7 separate regions of the Homo sapiens genome follow, and all the other regions are linked to region 5. Evidence: promoter capture Hi-C in 16 types of primary human blood cells and fetal thymus (Javierre and others, 2016). All regions are on one chromosome and are shown on one strand. The core of a region is centred on a gene start or on the middle of the fragment in contact, and the rest is flanking DNA. Distances in the headings are between cores, read along the strand shown.

What was found. Contacts are between HindIII fragments. The CHiCAGO score rates a contact against its expected background, and 5 or more counts as called.
Region 1: a contact is called between a fragment that was not itself captured here and the fragment with the promoter of HOXD12 in region 5, in 2 of 17 cell types (fetal thymus and total B cells). The highest score is 9.3, in fetal thymus.
Region 2: a contact is called between a fragment that was not itself captured here and the fragment with the promoter of HOXD12 in region 5, in 2 of 17 cell types (M0 macrophages and monocytes). The highest score is 6.9, in M0 macrophages.
Region 3: a contact is called between a fragment that was not itself captured here and the fragment with the promoter of HOXD12 in region 5, in 4 of 17 cell types (monocytes, M2 macrophages, megakaryocytes and 1 more). The highest score is 7.3, in monocytes.
Region 4: a contact is called between a fragment that was not itself captured here and the fragment with the promoter of HOXD12 in region 5, in 1 of 17 cell types (endothelial precursors). The highest score is 5.2, in endothelial precursors.
Region 6: a fragment that was not itself captured here is called in contact with the fragment with the promoter of HOXD12 in region 5 in 1 of 17 cell types (M2 macrophages); the score reaches 5.1 in M2 macrophages.
Region 7: a fragment that was not itself captured here is called in contact with the fragment with the promoter of HOXD12 in region 5 in 1 of 17 cell types (M1 macrophages); the score reaches 5.1 in M1 macrophages.

What each region holds. Positions count from the first base shown.
Region 1 is chr2:176,629,179-176,631,878 of GRCh38, forward strand. LINC01116 (long intergenic non-protein coding RNA 1116) reads right to left here. Exons shown (of 5, transcript NR_188023.1): 3 at 1,134-1,254. Among named protein-coding and RNA genes, the nearest start is that of LINC01116, 7.1 kb to the right of the region's middle. The HindIII fragment of the contact is 1,510 bases long and covers 615-2,124 here.
Region 2 is chr2:175,346,161-175,348,860 of GRCh38, forward strand. No RefSeq gene overlaps it. Among named protein-coding and RNA genes, the nearest start is that of ATP5MC3, 170 kb to the left of the region's middle. The HindIII fragment of the contact is 3,400 bases long and covers 1-2,700 here.
Region 3 is chr2:175,379,654-175,382,353 of GRCh38, forward strand. No RefSeq gene overlaps it. Among named protein-coding and RNA genes, the nearest start is that of ATP5MC3, 200 kb to the left of the region's middle. The HindIII fragment of the contact is 5,863 bases long and covers 1-2,700 here.
Region 4 is chr2:176,819,974-176,822,673 of GRCh38, forward strand. No RefSeq gene overlaps it. Among named protein-coding and RNA genes, the nearest start is that of LINC01117, 180 kb to the left of the region's middle. The HindIII fragment of the contact is 981 bases long and covers 935-1,915 here.
Region 5 is chr2:176,098,516-176,101,215 of GRCh38, forward strand. It overlaps HOXD12 (homeobox D12), which reads left to right and starts at 1,280. Exons shown (of 2, transcript NM_021193.4): 1 at 1,280-1,860; 2 at 2,007-2,700. The coding sequence starts at 1,287. The coding sequence ends at 2,245. RefSeq lists an enhancer at 1,135-1,867. The HindIII fragment of the contact is 6,365 bases long and covers 1-2,700 here.
Region 6 is chr2:175,286,968-175,289,667 of GRCh38, forward strand. No RefSeq gene overlaps it. Among named protein-coding and RNA genes, the nearest start is that of ATP5MC3, 110 kb to the left of the region's middle. The HindIII fragment of the contact is 5,516 bases long and covers 1-2,700 here.
Region 7 is chr2:175,433,460-175,436,159 of GRCh38, forward strand. No RefSeq gene overlaps it. Among named protein-coding and RNA genes, the nearest start is that of ATP5MC3, 250 kb to the left of the region's middle. The HindIII fragment of the contact is 1,413 bases long and covers 689-2,101 here.

The sequences.
Region 1 (2,700 bases), core at 120-2,619, 530 kb after region 5:
AAATCAGAAGACCCTCTATGACAGTTGAGCATTTGTGAAGAACAAAGGCAGAATATCCAAAACGTAAGGACAAATCTTAAATATAGTAAAAAATTAGGCAACTGCCACATGAAAACACCTAGTAGAATCTGAAAAACAAACTTCAGTGAAATTTGGCCAACTGTGTAAATGACCACAGACCTCAGTATGGTCAGTATTGATATCCAAAATAATGGAGTAAAATATATAAAAACAGCTCTATTTCTGGAGTAAGATGTCAGAGCATTCCCTCCCTCCCTTCCTCCCTCCCTCCCTCCCTTCCTCCCTTCCTCCTTTCCTCCCTTCCTTCCTTTCCTCCTCCTCCCTGTCTCCCTCCCTACCTGGTGTTGAAAATATTATCAATAGACCTATTAACAATTACTGCATTCACGTATTCTTCCAGTGTCTTTTTATTGGCTGTCAAGGACCATTAAATGGATCAACATAAAACAGTGTGCTACCTCTTGACTCCAGTTTCAAAATCTCAGTATATTTCAGTAAACTATCTCTTTAGTGAGAGTGATGATGTTTGACCATAAGGCCTTGTTGAGAGTGACAACAATGAATGGGTTACACATTGCTGATCTAGATCAAGAAGCTTGTCAGATGTTACAGTATGCTCACACATTAAAGTTACACTATGCGGCAATTACCCTAAGTTTATTTTGTGTCAGTTACAGCATGATGGGGATGCCAATCACAGAGCTCTCCTTGCAGGTAGGTTAGCATTTCTATTCTAGGTCCCCATATTCAAAAGCGTTCATAACTTGGTCATAAAAACTAATCATGGAATGAATCTTGGCATATAAAAGTCATTTCTCAGAAGATTAAAAAAATACAAATTAGAAAAAAGCCCCAAGTGCTTTGCCATTCTGATGTTACCCACAGGCCCCAAAATGAATTAGCAAGTCAGCAAGTCCTTTTCACTTATTTTTTTCTTTCTCCAAGAAAACTGTGTACTTCAGGGCCTTTGGGTCAGTTTTTAAGCTGACTTGTCTGGAAAAGGTTATCACTTGGAGGGAAAGAAGTTCTTTTCCAGCCTGGACAATATAGTTGAGACTCGGTCTCTATAAAAAATTTAAAAAGACAAATCAGCCAGGCATGGTGGCTCACACCTGCAGTTCCAGCTACTCGGAAGGCTGAGGTGGGAGGATGACTTGAGCTCAGGAGTTCAAGGCTGCAGTGAGCCATGATGGTGCCACCACACTCCAGCCTGGGTGATGGCAGAGTGAGACCCTGTTTTAAAAGGAAAAAAAAAGAATTAGAATTAAGTTCTTTTGTGCTACACAAAGATATTTTCCTTCAGGTGGTGATGGGAGGAGGGAAGGTTGGCTAACACTGAAGTTTCAAGTTTGAGTTCAGGGCTGTATTTCTGAATATAAACAAGATGCTATTGAAACTGTTCATTTAGATGCTCTCTCTCTTTTCTTTAAATAATCTCTAAAATTTTATATAATGAGAAACTGAGAACAAAGATTCAATCTTGTTTTTCCCTTGCAACTGCAGTAGCAGATATTTACTGATGGCAAACTGTTCCAGATATTTTGTGAACGTTATGCCATTTAATACTAATTTTAATATTGCAAAAAGGCACCACTTACTGCCTTTGTTTTATAAATGAGGAAACTTAGGCTCAGACCAGTTAAGAAACCTGCCAGGGGACATACACTGAAGCTGAAACCCGGGAAACCCAGGCCCATAATAAGTTAAATGTGTGTGTTCTATTAGTCATATATGCTTTTTAGCATGACACACAAAGGTAGGTCATGCTAAAAAGTGCCAATACCTATGTGGAAGAAAATACTCACAGTTAAACATATGCTCTAAAGGTCTTAATGTTAACATACAGGTGTCTGAATGGCAACTGCTAGGGCTTTGTGGGGCTGGGCCTAAGTAAATGCTGATACAGGCAGCCCCTTCACTTAGCCCATCCATTTTTGCCCACATTGTCTTTGGCAATTTCTGTAGTCATCTCCAATTCATTTAAAAAGTTTACTACAAGAGTTAATTGATCTTGATTGCTGGTGGGTAGCATTAACTCAAATACAGAAATGCTCTTGCTCTCCAAGATGACTCCTATTTTAGGGCCTGGCCACCGCTAGGCTAAGCTTGGTGGGTTACCCTCAAATGACCACCCACATTCATGTAAGGTGAACTTGTCCTCAAACAGCTGCTGGCTATTAAAGTTAAATTTTGATCAGATCTTCCAACATTTAGTAGTACAATTCCAACTCACTAGGTTTTCCAGGTTTTTCAAAAATCACCTTTCGTTCTCATGGTGAATAATTTTAATTGGAGAAAGAAAAAAAAATCTCAAATGCACAAAATCTTTTACCATGTTTCATCTTTTTAATAATGTATTTATTTTTATTCTAAGTCCAACAGGCAAAGACCAAGTCAATTTCAGTATTTGGCACAAAGCCTGCTGCAATATTGATGATATAATATCAATCATGATTATAAGTTACTCTGTTATTATGTGAATATTATTTTATAAGCTTTAATAAGATGCTTGAGCATTTAAGATGAATGGTTTAAAGTCTAAATTCATATTCATGCCAAATATGTAGGACATATTTTTCATAATTGTTCTTGTCCCTTGGGTCAGTAATATACTTTATAATCATCATAAAATTTCATTCTTAATTCATTTTAATTTATCAGAAGGAAAATATGGATGGT
Region 2 (2,700 bases), core at 110-2,609, 750 kb before region 5:
TCAATATAATTCAATATTTCTTGATTTTATTGCTCAAATTGTTCCTGCCTTGGCTCTTTCAGTTAGCTACTCTATTTTTTTTTTTTTACATATCTCTATATTTTTTAAAGCACTTCCTTACTTTCTGATGTTACAAGATGTTCCAGGCTCATATTGTATATTTCCTGTGCAGTGCTAGAAACAGCCATTTTTCCAAGGAGAGCTGGTTCCTTTTATCGTAGAATAGTATTAGAAACGAAGATCTGGGTGGTATATGTGCTTGGTATAATTCACTTTTGATCACATAGGTCTGGTGTTTTGGTAAATTATGACAATACATTTGCATTGCAGCTTTGGCCACAATCCAGAATTCTGATTCCATAGGTCTGGGGTTCAAGCCTCAGGTGATGCTGATGCTGCTGGTCCATGAACCACGTTTGGAAAATCATTGTACTATGGGTTAAATTGGCTTTTGAGTTCAATTCTGGGATCCAAAGCATTCCAAGTTTAAAGCTACTGATATGCACAATGTGTCTTTTCAAATTTATCTGCTAAGAGATGTTAGGTGCTGTAACTGGGTTTACTTATGCTGGGTCATTTATGATAGGGAAGTATGCAGCTAGTGTCAGATATGGCCCAAATCACTGAAGACAAGTCACATTAGAGTTCCCAAACTCATTACTTATAAATCAGGAGTCCAAACTCTGGTTTAGCTTTTCAACTAATAAACTGGATAGTCTGATGGACTTCTCCAGTGGAGAAGTAAAAATGGAAGAAGAGATACTATTTACATGTTTATGTAGTAGAAGGGGAGTATTTTTTTCTCCTTAAGTTCAGGTATTGGGTTGCTATCAAAGAAAAAAAGTACTGATTTTTTTCCATATTAGGTTGCTCTTTAGTAAGTCTAACCTTACCCTAGGTGCCTGGAAAGAAATTTGGTAAAAGGAAGATGATTGAATATTTTCATTTTTTATTTTTTAAAATATGTATATATTTTGGTATTTAAATTGTTTTTATTATTTATAAAAGTGGCCACTTTTACATATCTATTGTCTTAGTCAATTTTCTGCCTCTGTAACAGAATACCACAGACTAAGTTATTTATAAAGAAAAGAAGTTTACTTGGTTCATGGTTCTGGAGGCTGGAAAGTCCAATAGCATGGCTCCAGCATCTGGTGACAGTCATCCCACAGCAGAAGGGTAGAGGTAGAAGTGAGCAGGAGAGGCCGAGAGAGGAAATCAGGCCAAATTTACTTTTATAACAAACCCATTCTCCTGATAATCAACCCAAACCCAAGATAATGAAATTAATTCATTCATGAAGACAGAGCCCTCATGACCCTAATCACCTCTTGTAGGGCCTCTCAACATTGTTATAATGGCAATTAAATTTCAACATGAGTTTTGGCAGGAACATTCAAACCATAACATCTGCTATAGTTGTAGATTCATAATGATTTTAAAGGAACCCTAATAAAATTACCAGGAACCTTGAAGCATTCTAAAGGGGAAAATCTAGGAACGGAGGTGGTAATAAAATTAACATTTACTGATACCTGTCATTATTTATTGTAGGCTAAATTTTTATAACAGATATACCCCCAAATACAATGGCTTTAACAAAAAAAAAGTCTTTTTCTTACACAACAGTGTAGAGTGGGTATTACAGGATGATGGGGTGGCTTGAGACAGGGGAGGGCAGCTGGCTCTGCTCCATGCAGTTATTAAGGGACCCAGGCTGCCGTGTGTAGCATGTGGCTTCAAAATCTATATGATATTGTTCCAGCCCATGGACCAATTGCTATGGCAAGGGAATAAAATAGTAAGTGATGCAGCCTAAACTATATTACTACTTGGGGGTGGGAGAGGCTTCTATAGGGGTGCTGGGTAGATATGAATAATCATTTCTACAGGATCCTTACTCCTACCAAAACTTCCCTTCACAAAAAGTTTGTAAAATTAGACATTTGTGCCTTCATGTAAATTAACACATGGAAATAGTCTTCTGGGACTTTAAAATTTTAAATCTTATCTCTGCTTATGGGGCAAAGGGCTTTATTCATGAGAAGGAAGTCCAAGGACTAGACCCAGCAGATAGGGGTTTGTTCTTTATGTTGAATTGGACCGAGGACAGCTGCTGGGAGCTCGAGGAAGGCAACATAGTATCAACAGGGCATTGCAGGCAGATAGATGGACCTGGTTTAGAATTCTGTGATCTTGGGCAATGCGCTAAAATTTTCTGGGCTTCAGTTTTCTTATGTATAAAATGGTAAGAATATAAAATTCCTTAGGAAGTTTAATGAGGAGTGGGATAATATATATATGGTGTAATGAATGTAGATTTTTTTTCCTGAAATCACATGTCAGAAGTGCCACCATTCTTTTTACATATAAGGATACCTCTGAAGAACAAAAATATATATTAATGCATCTCTCCTGAAAGTTCCAAAATAGATCTACAATCTAGGATTTGAACAATTTATAACAATACTTTAAATGGTGCTCACCCTGATAGAGGTAATCTTTCCAATGTTCTCATAGGATATGTATAATTTGGGTAATTTAGTGAATTAAATTTTTTCTTTTCTTTTTTTTACCATATCCTTTTTTGTCTGCATTTTTCCCCCTTAGCTAATGAAAGATCAAATTAATTAAATCTTTTGATGTGTCAGGACAGCTCTTAGAGTAAGTGTTAAGGTAAGGACACCGAACTTTTCCACA
Region 3 (2,700 bases), core at 194-2,693, 720 kb before region 5:
CAACGTCACTCATCTATATTCCCGCAATCTCAAGATAATTCCCATTTATATTTTATATAAATATATCTTTCCAACTTTTTTCTATGCAACCTCAAGATAATTGTTGTTTATATTTTATATAAAAATATCCTTCCAACTTTTTTCTATGCAAATTCATATATATACTTAAAAATTGGAGCGTATTATGCAAAATGTTTTTGACATACTTTTTTCGCTTATATATAAACAACTTTCTATCTCAGTAAGTCATTTTCTTCAATATTATTTATTCAGCTATAACTTTTTTGCTAGACTTTTTGCAATATTATTTTTAATAACATTTCTGATTATAAAAATCATAGATATTCATTGTAGAAAATATGAAAAATACAAAGAGAAACTTCTAAATGACTCATAATCCTGCTACTCAAAGAAAACCGAGATCAATATTTTGGTGTGTTTCCATTCTTGTGTGCCCATTCTTGTCCATTTATGGTATATAGACCATAATTCCAATTTTGTAAAACTGTCAAACACTAGCATATACAGTTTTGTCTTTTTTTAACTTGACGTTTTTCATAAGCATTTCTTCATGCTTTAAATGTTCTTTTAAAACTTTAATTTTAATGTTTGTACAGTTTCCATCAAATGGATTGACCATAAGCCACTTAACCAGGCCTATATTGTTGGACATTGCCGATATTTCTAGTTTATTACTATTGTAAATAACACTGTAATAAACAGTCATATTGAAATTTTGGTAAGCCTTGGTGATTATGTCCTTATGATAGACATTGGGTCAAAGGGCAAGAACCTTTTTGAGGCTCTTAATACATATTACCAAGTTGTTTTCCAGAAAGAATATGGCAGTATTTTATACTTACACATAACTGATATGGGGATATATAAAATACATCAAAAGTTTTATTTTCATATAATTTAAATGGGCATATTAATTCATGGAATGAATCTGTCCTTAAATTTGATAGAATAATCTGTGGTTATGATTTAATTTGCTTTGAAATCCACAGATAAAAGTAATTCTTAGAAAGATAAATAATAATTGATATATTAGTCATCTAACTTAAAAGTGTCCTTTTAGGGAACACTGGAAACTAAAAGAAAAAAAAGTGAATGTCTTTTTTGTGGTTAAAAAAGACCCTGGAAATACTATAAATTTACATGTAAATTATTAAGACTGCCTCAAAAAATAGAGAAAAAATATACTTGGAAGAGGAAAAGATTCAATGCTTTTCAAATAATACAGACCATAATTGGAGCTTATTTATAAAACATTTTCATTATTAAAACCAAAACATATGGTTGTTTTTCATGAGAGTTGGCAAGTGTTTTTATTGCTTTATAAAAAATTATTGAATTATGCCCTATAAATCTAATCGGCATATAGATTTTTAATGGTATATATTCTCTTTCATTAACTTAGAGCTGTTTTCCATAAATACTGAATAGTGGTTAAAGCTCAAAATGAGGGGATATAAGGTTAGAGCTAGATGTTTAAAACTTAGACAAATCCAATTTTGAAACATAATTTTAGAACATGTTCTAGGTCCTTAGGATTTGCAGGGCAGGCTTACTAAGGTAATCTCTAAAGGAATGCTTTATCCTAACTTCTACTTTGGGGTATAAATACTACCCATAGAAAAACAAAGACGGGGTTATTAAGTAGTTTTTAACTTCAGAAACCAATAAAAGTCAGAACTCTCTGCCCACAAGAATGAGTTTGTTTACTGTGTGCATACTTTTTAACACCCAGTAGCTATGAAATTTCAGATAATTTTTGTCAGTCTCCATCCATGAAGGCAGAGTTGCATGGAGATAAAGACCAAAACTGTCACAATTGCTCTTTAGAATGTGAAAACAAACCAAAGTAAAATGTATTTTGTTGAAGTTTGGAAGTCAGTTCAGTCCATTAAAATAGCTTTTGTTTGTTTATGCCACTTCCTGCCTTTCATGAATGGGTTCTGAGTACCTCCAGAGACAGCTGTCCATCAGATTTCTTTGGGAGATGACTGAGGAGGGAGTACTTACATGCTAGGAAGACGGACAATGAATAGGGAGACAGGAAGTATGATTGCTCTTCTTGGAGCTCCTTATCCCAGCTGCCATGCCCTAGAAGATCAGTGGGTGCCATGAATATTCCAGGGGTAAAATAGGGATACTGTAATTTATTGAATTTAAATCATGATGACTTTTATTGTTGGAATGGGGTAATGGGAAGAAATAGTTTTATGCAGACCCATAGATAGATCCTTAATTGTTGGATCCAAACCCAAAATACATTGAACAATAGTATAGTATGGGAATAAACTCATATTTCTCTGTGTGTGTATTTTAACAACAAACTATATTTTTGTTTCCTTAGAAATTGAAGATGAACTTATAAATAAATACATACTTATTGATGATGATGTGTCCAGCTATGTTCAAGTGAGAAAAAGAAGTATGAGCCATGGTTTCCTGCATATAAGGAATCTTTTGTTTTTGAGATAGAGTTTCACTCTTGTTGCCCAGGCTGGAGTGCAATGGCGAGATCTCGGCTCACCACAACCTCCGCCTTCCAGGTTCAAGCGATTGTCCTGCCTCAGCCTCCTGAGTAGCTGGGATTACAGACGTGTACCACCATGCCTGGCTAATTTTATGTTTTTAGTAGAGACGAGGTTTCTCCATGTTGGTCAGGCTGGTCTCGAACTCCTGACCTCA
Region 4 (2,700 bases), core at 175-2,674, 720 kb after region 5:
CTATAGCTCATCTTCTATTCCTTCTTCCAAATATGACTTTACCCTTGACTTTGCTGAAATTTGCTGATGAAACACTGACCTCTTGTCTCAGTGACAATGTCTCAGCCTCATTTTCTTTGTCCTGTAGTTTCTCTGTCCTTGAGGAACTTGCGTGCATCCACGTGGCCTGGGAACAACACGCACACAACGCAGCACTATGTGTAGCTTGAACAAGTGCTCCCTAACTTTGTTAGTTCCCACACACTTTGCTAAAATGCATGTATGATTGCTACTGAACTGTCTGGGTCCTCAGACCTTATCGGGACCCTGGAACACGAGTCCTGATCAGGAGCACCTTTCATGGTCATCAGGAGCAGAATAGGAACAGGGAACAGTTTAGCTTCTAAGACTGAATTTGTCCTGCTCACAAGAATCACCAGAGCTTGTCCTCACAAATACATATGTGTGTCTAAGTAGAAATTTTTCATTAACACCAAATAAACCCCCAAACCTTCCCTTATGTAAAGGAAATAAGACTGGCTGCTAGACAGACTTCTTGATCCACAGAGGCTGTGATCTCATTTCTGTGTAGCCTTAACAGGGGACAGTAATGTATGATTGAGACACTGCTATATTTAGGAATGACAAGATGAACATTATTAATAGCTTAATTGACATTAAGGCAATTACCCCTACCCTTATTACAGTTTGTAGAATTACACAGAAAATATTGGCTGGGGCCTTTTTTTCCCTAGAGCTACCCAAGGATACAGCATTTTATTTCATGCCAGATCCCAGCTTTGACATTAGATACTTAGCCATAGAATGATTCCAGTAAATCATTATAAATGCATTATAATAAAGATGTTATGAGCTATCAGATATTAACCCCCAACCCCTAAAGAGAGATAAATAGTCCAGTTGCATGATTCCCACTTTTGTTTCATAAGAAATAAGCTTTTGCAAAGAGCAACTGACTAATGAATTATAAAATGGTGTGTTGAGCTCAGATAATTAAACAATGCATTTTAGTGTCTAGTGCAGGATGAACACTAAATCATACACAAATAAAAAAGGTAAAAATCTGAGCCCCATGCCTAACTCCTATTTTTGAATAACATTAATGTTGGTCTACAGTCCAAAAATGCTTCAACTATTTTCTTATCTGATTAGAGAGGCATATCAAGTATAAGATCAAGGCACAGTAGGCAAACTAAACCAACAGTCAGAACAAAAACTGTGAAGGTGCTAATTTCAGATAAGCCCACAAGGTTATTTTAATGGAGATTTTACATGGAGATTGCTTTTTCCCCCAAAGTGTTAATGGGACAAAAGTCTAGAAGGACCTGGAAGTTTTCAGGTTTCCTTATACTTTATATTTTCTCTGAACTCATAATAAAGCATATTAGTGGGAATGGGATCTATGCTATTGGTGGTGGTCTTAGCCTTATAGTGTTGGAAAGATGAATACACATCCTAAAATCTTCTCTAGGTTGTGGAGGTGCAGGGATGAGGAGGGGTTGGTTTGGGTTTCAACCATTATCCTCCCCAGGTGGTGGTATCCTGCCCAGCAGGGCTTCATCTAGTGGTCAACCATGGAACACCATGACATTTTCACCAGTGGCCCTCAGACAGGGCTGGTTTGCCATTGGCTGCCATTTCCTGGCATGTCGTAGATTTGCTGCGTGATTTGAAGCTGTGCTTCAGCACATCCTGAATGTGTTTTTTAGTCTTTCAGTATCTCAAAGACATGGTGTCCGCCTCAAGGTAGTCTCCTATTTCTTCGTCAAATAGCACATCATTAAGGACTGTGTGGCCAAAATTACAGATGGTCTTGGACTCTGTATGGGCAATGACCACCTGTGCTGGTAATCGAGGCTTCCCTGGAACACCTGGGAACATACCACACAGCCAGTCCTCTCCTGTGCTCCAGTCAAGCTTAACCTCACAGCCCGATACTCCCTCCACTTCCCTAGCTCCATGTGTTAGCCACTGCAGGTTAATTGATCTAAGGCTTATTTTCTTCAAATATAAAATGAAGATAATAATGCCTACCCAGAGGGTCATGTGAACATTAAATGAGATCAATTATGTAAAGATCTATCTATGCAGTGCCTTTCACAGAGTATGCCCACAAATAAATGTTACCTGTTTCATTTTAGTTATCTATGTTTAGCTATCTTTGTGTTTTTTCTATCCTGCTTCTTCTCGCTCCACTATACTCTTACATCCTAATTCTCTCTCTCTCTCATACACACATACTTTGCTGTGTCTAGCACAGTGCTTTGCTTGTGGCTCACACTCTACATGCTTGTTACCCTGAACTATTAACAAAAGCAGCTGCTAGTAACAGTTAATGTTTTCTGACCACCTACATGAGCCAGGCACTATGCTAAGTATCATCACTTCCTTTAATTCTCACAAGCTTATGAGACAAATACTATTTTAATTCTCATCTATCGGAAATTAAAGATTAAAGATGTTCTATAACTTGCCCAAGGTCACACAAGCTCTTAAGTGGATAGTCAAGATCCAAACTCAGAACCGGCCTGGATTTGAAATCTCAGTTCTTAACTATCACTGTGTCAGACTGATTTTGTTAGCTTTTTCCTCCTTTAGACTGGGCCCTATCAAGGGATCAGAGATAAGCATGTACCCACTCTCAGATGAGTGATCCCACGACCTCAAGTTTTGAAGTTCCAGGAAGTCCAGAAGTGTATG
Region 5 (2,700 bases), core at 30-2,529:
GTCTTGCCCTCCGGCGGCGCCTGTGTGGTCTCAGTGCAGGAGCCCGCGATCTAACCAATTCCAGCTTGGCTCGGAGACCGAGGGTCCTGCTGCAGGCTGAGACTGGCGCCGGTCACCGGGTCTCCCAGGGTCTTGGGATCAGAGGCAGGAGGGGAGGACCCCTAGTCCTCTGGCCGGACTAGGCAAGAGGGCCAGCGACGGGGTCTGAGCACACCGCTCCCGGCTAAGAACTGCTGCCTTTCCCACTTCCCTGTTTGTCAGACCCGTGAACTCCCTATCCCCGGCACCCCTGGGGGCGCTGAGGCAAGGAACTCTGCTAGCCAGCTGCCTCCGAACGCCCGCTGTTCCCCGGCCAGGTGGTTCTGGCTCTTCTGCCTTTCCACACCCAGTCGGGGGAGTTCGTCCTGCTTTGCCCTCCACTTGGTGGATGGGGACACCTCGGAGTTCTGGTTTGCAGTGTGTAGTCCTGGAGAGGACTCCTGAAGATAAAAGGAATGTAGCCTTTGGCCACGATTGGTGGATCGAGCTGATGGGTTCCCTGGCGGACATTCTCCATGGACCTGTATGGCAATTTCCCTATGATCAGAGTTCTTAGCCATGGGGACACAAACCAGAAATAGTGTGGCCTCCTTCCTGGATCCCAAAATTGGGTAGTTTGTGATGCCCTTTTTGTGTCTGCGGCCTGGGACTGAGGGCTCAAGTAGCGAATGGGTCTTTGCTGCCAGATCCTCAGGCAGAGGTCTCTGGAGAAACCCTCTCTGTGGGAGTGATTGGGGTAAAAGTGACATTGCTCAGGCCAAGGGACAGAGCTCCTGGTGCCGCCGGACCGCGCCCTCTCCGGATAAGTCGAGAGGCGCCGGTTAATGGAAAATGCCTCCGCTGCAACTTAAAGCCGGTAGAAGCAAGCCGGGCCCAGAAAGCCTGCGGAAAACGAATCGCAAAGCCAATCACGACCAAGAAGAGTCCCAGGGGACACTTGGGCAGAGTCACCCTCTTGCCCGATGTCCCCAGCTGCTGAAGCCGGGCCTGGAAACCCGCAGACAGTTAGTCTTCGCTCAACCTGATTTGGCTCTGCTGGCAGCCTCGTCCTTCGCCATCGAACATTGCGGGTGTTATCATAATACTCTGAAGGGGGGGAAAACGGGTCGGGGGGATGTAGGCGGTGCTGAAATGACCGGCTTTGAAGAACCTGCAGGCAAAGTTTCGTCCAATCGTCTGAGCCTGTCCTCTTATTCCCGGTTGTAACTAAATACTGTTGCGAGCGCAGCCGAAGCCCTTTGTTGGAGATGTGTGAGCGCAGTCTCTACAGAGCGGGCTATGTGGGCTCGCTTCTGAATCTGCAGTCGCCAGACTCTTTCTACTTCTCCAACCTGAGGCCGAATGGCGGCCAGTTGGCCGCGCTTCCCCCTATCTCCTACCCGCGCGGCGCGCTGCCCTGGGCCGCCACGCCCGCCTCCTGCGCCCCCGCGCAGCCTGCGGGCGCCACTGCCTTCGGCGGCTTCTCGCAGCCCTACCTGGCTGGCTCCGGGCCTCTCGGCCTGCAGCCCCCAACAGCCAAAGACGGACCCGAAGAGCAGGCTAAGTTCTATGCGCCCGAAGCGGCCGCTGGGCCAGAGGAGCGCGGTCGTACCCGGCCGTCCTTCGCCCCCGAGTCTAGCCTGGCTCCTGCAGTGGCTGCTCTCAAAGCGGCCAAGTATGACTACGCTGGTGTGGGTCGTGCCACGCCGGGCTCCACGACCCTGCTCCAGGGGGCTCCCTGCGCCCCTGGCTTCAAGGACGACACCAAGGGCCCGCTCAACTTGAACATGACAGTGCAGGCGGCGGGCGTTGCCTCTTGCCTGCGACCTTCACTGCCCGACGGTAAACGGTGCCCATGCTCCCCGGGCCGGTTTGGGCCGGGATGGGAGGTGGGGTTCAAGGGAGAGTGTAAGGGGAGGTGAACCGCCTGGGGGCGGGCAATAGACAGAGTACGGGCTGGGTTGACGTGGGTTGGGGCTGTGTTGCAGGCCTGCCGTGGGGGGCGGCCCCGGGGAGGGCCCGCAAGAAGCGGAAACCCTACACGAAGCAGCAGATTGCGGAGTTGGAGAACGAATTCCTCGTCAACGAATTCATCAACAGGCAGAAACGCAAGGAATTGTCCAATAGGCTGAACCTCAGCGACCAGCAAGTCAAAATCTGGTTCCAGAACAGGCGTATGAAGAAGAAGCGCGTGGTGCTTCGGGAGCAGGCGCTGGCGCTCTACTAGCCGCGCGCGTGGCCAGGGCCGGGTTGGATCTGCCCTTTTGGACAGAGGCCTTGTTTGGGGAGGGGGATCTGGGGCTAAGGCTAAGGCTTTTCCTTCGGTTCCTTCTCTGCTGGCCCCAGAAGCCACCAAGAGATTTACAGACCAGGCCAGTTGGGCCTCCTTGCTTTCCTCAGTCCCTGAGAAGCCCGTGAGAAACGTGCGGAAGTACCAGTGCAACTCTGGCTGGCCTTAAGGCTTCCACGTTGGGGGACTGAGGCCAACTCTCCTTGCTCCTGGCTGGGGCATTTGCACCCACCGCTCATTCTTGCTCCCCGGTACCTGGATTTTTCTGTTTCCACCCAATTCGTTCTCCCTTTCCCCCTCTCTCCAGCCCCTTCAGCGTATAGCAGTCGCCTAGTTAGGGCTCAGAGTGGAAGGCCTCCTGAGGGAATGGAAAGGACTGTGGGTACAATTAG
Region 6 (2,700 bases), core at 95-2,594, 810 kb before region 5:
TCCTCCAAGTAGTTCTGATTCTTTCTAATAAAGAACAGTATCGGAGACTAAAGTCTGAGTACTCTGGGATGCTCCAAGTCTGTTCTGATTTTTCCCTGCCTCAAAACTTGAGAGTTGAGCAAAGATGCTGCGGCTTCTCTCGGGACATCTTTAGTGGTAGAGCTGGAAAAATGTTTCTTTTTAAAGGAATTCTAACTTATTTCTAAACTTTGTTTTAATATAAATAATTTCATTTTCTCTATCACATTCTTACTTTACATGTTAACTTTTCAACTAAACTGTAATTCTGTCTTTTAAAAAAAAATTCTTACAGTCTCAATACTCCAATACTCATCATTTTGTAATCACTTTATTGATACGAAGGAGGATATTCTAAAACTTTTTATTTATTTATTTATTTTTTGTGATGGAGTCTCACTCTGTCACCAGGCTGGAGTGCAGTGGCACGATCTCAGCTCACTGCAATCTCTGCCTCCTGGGTTCAAGCAATTCTCCTGCCTCAGCCTCCCGAGTAGCTGGGATTACAGGCATGCACCACCACACCCAGCTAATTTTTATATTTTTAATAGAGATGGGGTATTACCATGTTGGCCAGGACGGTGTTGATTTCCTGACCTCGTGTTCTGCCCGCCTCTGCCTCCCAAAGTGCTGGGATTACAGGCGTGAGTCACCATGCCTGGCCTAAAACGTAAGAGGGAATAATACAGTAACATGTAAATATGTAATAAATATATAATGTATACTAAATGTAGAAATATGTAGTAAGTATTTCATGTTAAAACTATTTATTTGTGGACTTAAGCAGAAAACAGCCAGATAATGGAGAGTTCTAATGAACTTCCTTGATCCTTAAATAAAGATTTCTTATTGCTACAGACACAAATAACGAGGAATTTTCATTGTAAGTTCATTTTATTTTTGTTGGCTGCTGATGGACAGACTGAAGGTCTACTTCTCATCTTTTCAGTCCTCTTTTGGCATTAATGAGGCTCCACAAATAGAAGAATTTCAAATGGCCATAGCCACGGTCAGCCTTTGGCAAGGTTTAGATGGAATTAAGTCTCAATGAATACTGCCTAACAGTGGCAGAGCCTACTTATTTCTATGCTTCTATAATGTTTTTTAGCTTGTACATTTCTCCTGCCATTACCTTACTTCGACGTTTGTTACCTCTACCTCAATTTTTGCAATCGTTTTCCTGTTCAGATGTGCCAGTTTTCTTTTTGACTATGACTAGTTAAAATTTATCCATCTGTTTAAGGGTTTTATAAAATTGCAATGATTATATTCATTTCCAGGATTTCTGAATCTTCTTTTAAATATCCCTGCACTTGATTCAGAGCTGCCTGCTTTATTTTATAACCTACTGTTGTTTTAAAAGAAAATATATCTGAGGATCTCACAAATGTTCTTTTAAAATTACTCTATTGTTTCAATTTCCAAAATAAAAGTAAATTCTTCTGTCCCTTGAGTTTGTTGACTGTCTTTCATTGGGTGAATTTTTCTTTATGTGCTTTGTAACTCTCATTTGCAAACTCATTTTAAGTGGAAATTTGATTTTGTTTGTATTTGTTCTCTTCCTGAGCTCAGCCTTTCTTTTAGTGATTTTGTAGCTGTCTCCTGCAGACTCCAGCCCATAACCAGGTCTTAAGTTATGTGAGCAACTTAGAGCTGTTACCCTGGGGGGATGTTGCTCATTCATCCCAGAACCTCAACTTCTGTTCCTGGGATGGGCAACCCCATCCAATCTCTGATTCCCTTCCCCTTGTGGGAAATGTTCAGTCTTCCTTCCCCCTCATGAATTTAATTCCCCTTCTATTCTCATTGTCAAGATATTTGTCTTGATTTTGAGTATAACTCTGCCTTTTAAAAATTTTCTCTTCTTATTTTTATCTCTTTCTTTCTTGTTTCGAGGTCATAGTGATAGTGGTGGTGAGGTAGAGCCGAGGGGTGTTTGGTGTGAGCTACTCCACTCTCTTGACCAGAAATCCCTACACTTAAATTCATAATTGGTATTCCTACCTCTAGTTCTTCTCCATTTTCATTTATACATTATGCTACTGTAAGATTCAAATTCTTAAGGCATCAGTTTTGATCTCTACATTACACCTCTTAAAAACCTTAAATGTTTCCCCACTGGCTATCAAGAAAAATGCTCTAGTGTATTGTAATTATGTATAACATTGACTGTTGGTTTAAGATTACAGAATTATTTCTAAACTTCATAATTTTTAAAATTATAATAACTAACAGACCTATTTTTTTTTTCAATTTAAGACCACGAACTTCACCCAAAATAGTTGTTACTAAATATCAAAGAAAGACAAAAGTTTTCTTTTTATTTTTCACTGGTATAATTTACAATGAGCTCTGATTATTTTTTCTACCTTAATTTATTAGAACTATACAGAAATATAATTATTATCTACCCACTGCTAATTTGGCATTTCTTTTGATTTATTTTCTAGTGTTTATAATGGATAATAGTGATTGATTTATACTTTCTTGGCCACATATAGAGGTAAGACTTAGGGACATAGTGTATGTTATGGATCAAATTAAAGTTACTGGTTTAAATGAGATTAGACTCCTGAATTTGACATCACTTATATGTTGCTCCATCTCAGACTTATGCACTTTGTGGTAATCAGGAAAAACATGGTGATTTACCTAGAAGGCCGCTGGGGTTTGCTTGATGTC
Region 7 (2,700 bases), core at 145-2,644, 660 kb before region 5:
AGGCGCCCGCCACCGCGCCCGGCTAATTTTTTTTGTATTTTTAGTAGAGACGGGGTTTCACCTTGTTAGCCAGGATGGTCTCGATCTCCTGACCTCATGATCCACCCGCCTCGGCCTCCCAAAGTGCTGGGATTACAGGCGTGAGCCACCGCGCCGGGCCGAAACATAAATCTTTAGTTCCGTGTTTATCCTAGCTGCATAGCAATGATCCGTCCTTTATATCCATACCATTAAAGTTGTTAAACGAAGACAAAATTTCCTAATTGCATTTCATCTACAGTAATAATAATTTTTATTTGGAGGAGATGGACATTGCCCTTAAAGTATTTTTAAAACTACATATTGGAGTAGTTACATAAAATACTAGTTTGTCAAGCTCAGTAAGGAAGTAAATTACCCTTATTCCTCCTCTACATGTTTAAAGGAGTCTAGGGAATGAAGGAGTTCAAAGCCACATCCCGCCAGGCATCTTTCTACAGAAATGCCATTTGTCCTAAGACAAAGTATGACAAAAGCTGATAGAATGGCTAATTCTGGGTATAATGTAAAGTTTGTCTTAAAGTTATTTCTCAAAACGTAATAATGATGTCAGACCCCTGAAATGTCCGCCACCAGACTACATGAATAGGATTTAGATAAGAGATGAAAGGAGGGCCTGGAAATAAAGCAGGTGGTGAAATCTTGAAAAAGCTTACATTTATCGTAAGCAGAACATCTATAGCAATAATCTTATAAGTGGGTTTTAAAAATCAATTAAATAGGCATATTACAAATATGTCATGTAGTCATATAATTGTTTATATTTCTGATTCACCTTACAAATGTGAAGCATAACTTAAAGAAATAATCTTTAAAAATGCCTTCAGTCATTATAGTAATTACCCTGAAAGATTAGAAACTTCAAAATGAAACAAGAAAAAAGTAAGGAACACAGACTGATTTATTGTTATAAAGTAAGCATATTGTCCTATGAATAAAATTATGAAAATACTTATAATGGTCTGCTTAAAACTAATTGTTTTGGATGTGATAGGCACACGTTTTATTCACTAACTCTAACTGTGACAATGACAGATCAAAATTCTATAAAGAAAGCAAAAATATCACAAAAGAAAGAAAATAAGAAAAATGGCAGCCATGTATGCTGACTTAACAATGCCATTCAAGGTTGGGCGTGGTGGCTCATGCTTGTAATCCTAGCATTTTGGGAAGCTGAGGAAGGAAGATTGCTTGAAGCTAGGAGTTCGAGACCAGCTTGAGCAACATAGCAAGAACCTGTTTCTACAAAACAAACAAAAACCATTATCATTCAAGATCTGAAAGTGTTTTCTGGGTACGATTATTGTTAGTTACATTTAAAATAAATACCTATGGCAGAGAAATATCTAGGAGCTGCAAACACAGATACTCACACAGGCCAGGCAGGAAATAATGGGGCTGGAGAGATTTGTCAAACTAGAGTGTGTCCGCACTAAACAGAGCAGCTTCTACCAATTGTTGCCATGTGGAAATGAGATCTGAGTTTTGCCAGATCTCTTGTTTTTTCAGGAAAACCTGAAAATCTAAATGTTTAGAGATTATGAGTCCCTGTGAGGGCCTCACAAGACCCTTACCTGTGTGGGTTTACTGAGCATAGGTAAGACAGCTGGGTTGAGGGGGTTGGGATGGTTGTCATGCACCCTGATCTAATGCATTCTGGTTATTGAATAAACAGTAAGAACCATAAATTAGAAAATGCTGTTTGACATTGAGCAATACATGGTTGATTACAACATTGCACTTACGTGTATATAGCTTAGTTCAGTTAATAGTGCACTTTCTTATGTCTCATATCATCTAATTCATGTCATTAGAAAATGAAGACCTTTCCACACAGCCCATTTAAGGGTTTCTCCCTCTCATGCTGGTCTCTGCCTAGCCTTCCTTTCCTCCTCTTCTTCACTTGGAGGACTCAGCTTATCTTTCAGGGCTCAGAGAAGACTCCCACCATCCCTGTAACTGGGCTGGGACCTTGTGCCATCCTCCCTGGATCTTCCCTTTGCAGCATTGTGAAAATTGTGAATATGTAATTCTTATTCTCTGTCTTGCCGGCTAGACTCCAAGCTTCATGAGGGCAGAGAACTACATTTGTACTCTCAGTACCTACTTCAGTCTGATACACATTTTTAAAATAAATGTTTGCAGAAACAGAAACATTTGAATGAATCACATAGAAACGTGTGGGTGTGTGTATACACTATATATATGTAATATATACATGTTCAGAGTCTTATTTTGAATAATAAGACTAATCTCTGAACATTACATATATATGTATAATATAATTAGAGTCTAAATGAGCTACTTCCTTTATTCACTGCCAAGTAGACTTGTTACTTATTTCTGAGAGCTCTTTTGAATTTCCTCTGCTAAACTGGAGACACCTCAAGTTTTAATTTTTGGGGGGTTTCTAATTGTCTTTTTCTGATATATGGAAATAATGGAGGTCTCCTCAAAATGCCCTCTTAAGACAAATGCTGTGCTTCTTCCAGACAATAGAAGAAATGTGGAGATTGTAAAGATGGCCACAAAGTATCTACCTTTCTTTATCCATGCCCTTGGTTGGTTCCCTTGCACACGGCTTGGCTTTGTGACTTGTTTGGGCCAATTTACACTAACAAATATGATGCAAGCAGAGGTTTATGTATTAGGACATGTTTT